Regions from separate parts of the Homo sapiens genome. Here region 2 is linked to region 1. Evidence: promoter capture Hi-C in human tissues and cell types (Jung and others, 2019). All regions are on one chromosome and are shown on one strand. Each heading gives the region's core, a stretch centred on a gene start or on the middle of the fragment in contact. The rest is flanking DNA. Distances are from core to core; before and after follow the strand shown. Region 1 holds the start of STK32A (serine/threonine kinase 32A). Region 2 overlaps STK32A (serine/threonine kinase 32A).

Region 1 (2,779 bases), core at 134-2,633:
TTACTCCCAATATTGCAAGGGGTGGACACCCCACAAGTCATATTGTTTCTTAAATCCAGGAAGGGAAAAGATGGTATTACTACCAATATTCAAAGGATGTACAGAACGCATTTCTTATTGTTCTTAATATCCAGGTCGAAAGGAGATAACATTACTTTTAATATAATAAGGGTGGTACACCCTGCCTGTGATATGATTCCTAAAATCTAGAAGAAGAGAGAATGATATTACTTCCAATAATACACTGGGTGTGCAACCCCCTTTGATATTGTTCCTAATATCTAAAGAAAGAGATGATGATATTACTCCCAATACTGTAGAAGGTATACACCGTCCTGTGATATTGTTCCTAATAACTAGTGGGTGAGGGCATGATATTATTTCAAATATCGCAGTGGCTTTACACCCCTTCCGTGATATTTCTCCTAATTTCCAGGGGGTGGAGTACGAAGTTACTCCCAATATAGTAGTGGGTGTACACCCACGCTGTCACATTTCTACGAATATTCAGGGAAACACAGCACGATAGAACTCCAAGTCTCGCAAAGAGTGTACACCATTTTGTGATATTGTTCCTAATAACCGGAGGTGGATAGGATGCTGTTAGTTTCAATATCGCAGGCTGTGTACACACACACTGTGAAATTGTTTCTAATGTCCAAGAGGGGAGAGAATGCTATTAATTCCCATATAGCAAGAGGGTGAGGCACACCCCGCCATATGGGGAGTAATAGGACCCCCCCTCCCTCCCTGGCTACTACGAGCCACATCGCTGGGGTGTGAGGCACCCTCCTGCCATATGGGGATTAATAGCGTCCCCCTTTCCCCCCCGACTATTACGATCCACATCGCAGGGGAGTGAGGCTTCCCCCGCGATATGAGGAGTAATAGCACCGCCCTCTCCCCCTCAACCCCCCGGCTTTTAGGATCCACATCGCAGGGGGGTGAGGCACCCCCGGCGATATGGAGAGTAATAGCACCCCCCTTCTCCCCCCCCCCCCCCCCCGGCTATTACGATCCACATCGCAGGGGGGGTGAGGCAGTTCCCGTGATATGGGGCGTAATAGTACCCGCTGTGCGTCCTGGTGGCTCCGGACCCGGCCCAAGCGCGGCGGGACCTCCATCCGTAGCCCTCTCCCCCAACGTCGCCCTCCCGGGGTCCTTGTCTAGTCTCAGCAGGCGGCAAACGGACCCCAGGCGTCTGGCGCTCACCCAGGAGACTGCCCAGCGGTTTCTGGAGAGAGCGCTAAGCGGAGACGCCCGCTGGCAAGCAGATCCCGCCTCCTTCCCTGGCCAAGGAGCCGCCCCTCCGGGGTAGCTGTGCGCTGGGCGGCGCTCGGACCCCTTGGCAGCCGCAGGTGCCTCCCCAGCCCAGCCCAGCTCAGTCCAGCGCAGCCCAGCCCAGCCCAGCCCGGCGCTCGCAGCCTCCGCCGCTTCCGGGCAGATAGGTGCCTTTTCTTGCTCCTTGCTCTTGGAGTTCTTCTCTTAGTCCCTGTTCCCTGGATGAAAGCATCGCTCCGAGCCTCATGGGAGGAATGAAGGAAGAATCGAGACTAGGTGAGTGGTGGTCTAGATTTAACGAATAATAACAATAAACCTGCATACTAAGGGTACTGTTGGGAAGCTAGGAAGTGCAAGGAGAAGAGAAGACAAAGGCTGCTGATCAAGATAACTCACAAAACTAAATGCAGGCTAGGGCCAATTCCAGCTATTTTGCACTCCATCCAGGTTCCCCTGCCTGGCACTGACTCATGTGCAGACCCAGACAGACTTCAATAAATATTTGCTGGGTTGAGACAAGTGAGTGGAGGTGTTTCTGCTTGTTCTCCAGCATCTAAACAAGCAAAACCTAGCTGCCTTTGATGATTGCTTCATCTCCACAAGGACTTTTTCCCCCAGGACTTAAAAAATAAAATGTGGTGTATTCACACAACGGACTGCTATGCAGCACTTAAAAAGCTAAAATCAGAGCTGTAGGGATCAGCATGCCTGTACCTAGATTTCAGAAGTATGATGGCAGATAGACACAGCAAGATGCAAAATATATCCACTCTCTCATGCCATTTAGGTGACTTATTTTAAGACACTTGTCATGTTTGTAAAATCATAGAAGGGGGACTGTAAAATGTTTATCACATCCGTGATTGTGGCTGTCTTTGGAAAGTGTGAAAGGGAAATCAATTGGACTTTAGGATTAAGGTGGAAATAATATTTCCCTAAAATGCTTTAAAAATAAAAATGATGATATAAAGATGACCAAATATAAACAATTGTTAACTGAGAGTGTTATTAACTTGGGCATTTTTCATGTTTTTGCCCCCTATTTTTAAAATATTTCTTAAACTAAGAAGTTCTGTTTTTCAAATGCAAACAAAATAAGTTGTGTCTATGCACATTCTGTGACAATGAAACCTAAAATGTTTAATCAAAAGTTGCAACTTTCTTGCATCACCTCCTATGTTTTCCAATCCTAGAAGACCACACCTCTTTATCTAGGGAGGCTTGGTGGTTAGAGAAGCTTACCTGTTGACAACCCCCAAATTACAGGCCAAAGATGAAAGGTTGGTATTAGGGAACTATTTCCCAGTTAATAATCTGATAATCGGCCAGGTCAGGGTAGACTCTGAAAACTCCCTGTGTCCCTGCAAGACAAATTTCTCCTCCTTTTACATTTCATATGCTTTGGATTTTCATTTTCATGGATGGTAGCTGTCCTCTTCACATCTCAAAATGATGCTTAGGTAACACTGCAGACCTAGTGCCTGGAGATCAGGAAGGG
Region 2 (2,779 bases), core at 149-2,648, 33 kb after region 1:
ATACAAAATTAGCCAGGCATGGTGGTGCGTGTCTGTAATCCCAGCTACTCTGGAGGCTGAGGCAGGAGAATCACTTAAACCTGGGAGGCAGAGGTTGTGGTGAGCCGAGATTGTGCCATTGCACTTGTACTCCAGCCTGGGCAACAAGATTGAAACTCCATCTCAAAAAAAAAAAAAAACCAACAGGCAACATTCTGGGCTGAAACAAAGGTAATTCATCTGGTAACAATAGCAATAACATAAATAGCAGTAATAATTATACATTATTGAGTTCCTATTCTCTGCCAAAAATGGTTGATAAGCACCTTTGATATGGCTTATTTTACCTAGTCCTCATTATAACCTTAGAAGGTATATTGTATCTGGTCAAAATTGAAAGAAGAAATTGAAACTCACAGAGGGTAAATAATTAAAGTTCATAGCTAGTAAGTAGTACAGACAAACCCAAAAGCAGAGTTTCATGCTCATAGTCACCATAATGTATTCAGAAACTTTTAGGACTCATCACAATATTAAAATCATGGAACTTGGAGCCACAAAAAGTCAGATTTAAGTCCAAACCCTGACCCTGGGTAATTTAACTTTTCTGGGTTTATGTAACATATCTATAAAGTAGCAATAATAATATTACCACCTCATGCTGTTTTGGTAAAAAGTAAATAAGATAATGTATATTAAGGTATTTGGATAGTGCCTATAGATGTATATATGCTACTTAATAGACAGTAATGTAATTATTAACTATGACCTAAGATGTGGCACAGTGCAGGTAGCAGAAGTTCTATCATTAATCATTTACAGATACTTATTAAATTGCTTCAAACCCATAAGGATAGAGGCAACATGGAGGGGGAAGTCTAAGAAATTGATTGAGTCAACATTTATATAAATACTTATCTACTGAGAGCTTCTTCACCTCAGGGTTTGGGTCACTTTAAATGCATCCTCCCTGACCTCCTCTGCCTGGCTACCTTTGGAACTCCAACCCATTCTGCAAGACCCAGTTAAAATGCTGCCCATTCCTGAAGCTTTCTTATTTTCTAAAGTAGGAAGAGATTTCTCCCACCTTAGAACTCCTATAAACATCTGCAGACTAGTTCTAGGCAGCCTTTAACAAAATCCTCATGGGATCTTTGAAAATACAGATTCCCAGGTCCAGCCTCCAGAGAATCTGATTCAGATAAGGCCAATGAATCTGAATTTAAAAACATGTATTTGTGTGATTTTGATGGGTGGACACACTTGAGAATCACGTCAGGACCATTTATGTGGCTCTCAATACATATACACTACTTTATATTGCAGTTGTTTATTTATGTTATATTGCAGTTATTTATTTATGTTTCATCTCTTTTCCTGAGAAATTACCTTCCTGATAATCCAATGCAGAGATAAATTAAGAAAATCTGTAGGAAAGAATAGATCATCAAGTCCCTTGCAACATTCTTCTGAGGTTGTAATAATCTCCTCTAGGATGCTTTGCAGGATTTCCCTGGACTAGGTTGGCTTTTCCTGCTACTTTCTCCCATTACAGGTCTCCCTATGGCAGCACTGCTTATATCACTTGGAACTTGAATCTATTTTGGTAAAAAAAAAGTTAAAAATTAAATTATCAGAAGGATATTGGGGATGCCTGCAGAGTAATCAAAATAGGATCTATATTGTTATAGAGCCAGGCACATTAATGCCATCAGCTTTAGCCCTTTATGTTGTGATTTTACTTTATTCCAAATGTCAGCTTTATCCTGTTGGATGTGCTGATCTTTTTTCTCTACATTCAGCCAGTTCCATTCTCATGTTCTGGAAGCCTGTGACAGAGGGGGAATATGCATTTCAAGATCAGAAGATCCAGAGTGAAAATGATTGGAATGGCCTGAGTCACAGTTCCAATCCTAGACCAAGGCATCTGGCTAGGGATGTGAGAGATGATGAGTGACAGATACAGTGACAGCAAGTGGTTGATGGGATCTGAGTTGTGAGAGAGGGTCTGTGAAAAATGAAAGACCTGCATAAGAAGAGGAGAAGCAGAAATATGAACATTGTTGTGAGTCAGGTCTTTACCCAACTCTGTGCTGCTTATTCTACTTTTTTGTGCAAGATTGATTATGTGTGTTTAATAGAATGCAGTAAAGAACAGTGTTGGAGGGCAGCTGTGGAGTCCACTTGAGTGGGACTCTACCACTCTGCCACTTACCTACTTTGTGGCCTTGAGAAAGGTACTTAATTTCCCTGGGTTGCAGTTTGTTCACCTAAAAACGTGGCAATAATAGTAATACTGTTTCAGAGTTGGCGCAAAATTAGGATAATATATGTAACATATTTAGAATAATGATGGGTATTCCTTATATAAATGTTAGATGTTAGCTACTATGAATTTTTCTGTTGTTCCACTAGACTGTAGGACCCCTGAAGGCAGGCAACCTTGGGCTTCTTTCTCCCAGCACCTAGCACAATGGCTGTTACTTAGTAAGCAGTCAGTAATGGTGTGTTGTTGTCAGTGAACACAGACTGAGTTCAGTGAGCAATGTCTTGGAAAGCCTCTACTGCACCTAGGACTTTCAGCTATACTGAGACAGAAAAATGAAATCCTCTCTGGACTGGAAAGCAGAAGCCAGACGTGTGGGCAACCAAACTGTAACTGTTTCCATGTCGAATTGACTTTGCCTTTAGCGAATCATAGCACTGAGGAGAGTCACGTTTAAGCAGCAAATTTGTATAGCAAATTAACATGCCAAAAAAGGCATGCAAGACTTTTACTTGATTTTTTTTCCCTCCTCTC

The links. Contacts are between HindIII fragments. The study calls those that stand out against the background at their distance.
Region 2: a contact is called between a fragment that was not itself captured here and the fragment with the promoter of STK32A in region 1, in 3 of the 25 tissues and cell types used here (H1 embryonic stem cells, aorta and pancreas).

Annotation. Positions count from the first base shown.
Region 1 is chr5:147,233,643-147,236,421 of GRCh38, forward strand. It overlaps STK32A (serine/threonine kinase 32A), which reads left to right and starts at 1,384. Exons shown (of 13, transcript NM_001112724.2): 1 at 1,384-1,557. It overlaps STK32A-AS1 (STK32A antisense RNA 1), which reads right to left and starts at 1,217. Exons shown (of 4, transcript NR_147190.1): 1 at 1,071-1,217. The HindIII fragment of the contact is 18,302 bases long and covers 1-2,779 here.
Region 2 is chr5:147,266,866-147,269,644 of GRCh38, forward strand. The region is part of intron 2 of STK32A (serine/threonine kinase 32A); the gene reads left to right. Among named protein-coding and RNA genes, the nearest start is that of STK32A, 33 kb to the left of the region's middle. The HindIII fragment of the contact is 8,058 bases long and covers 1-2,779 here.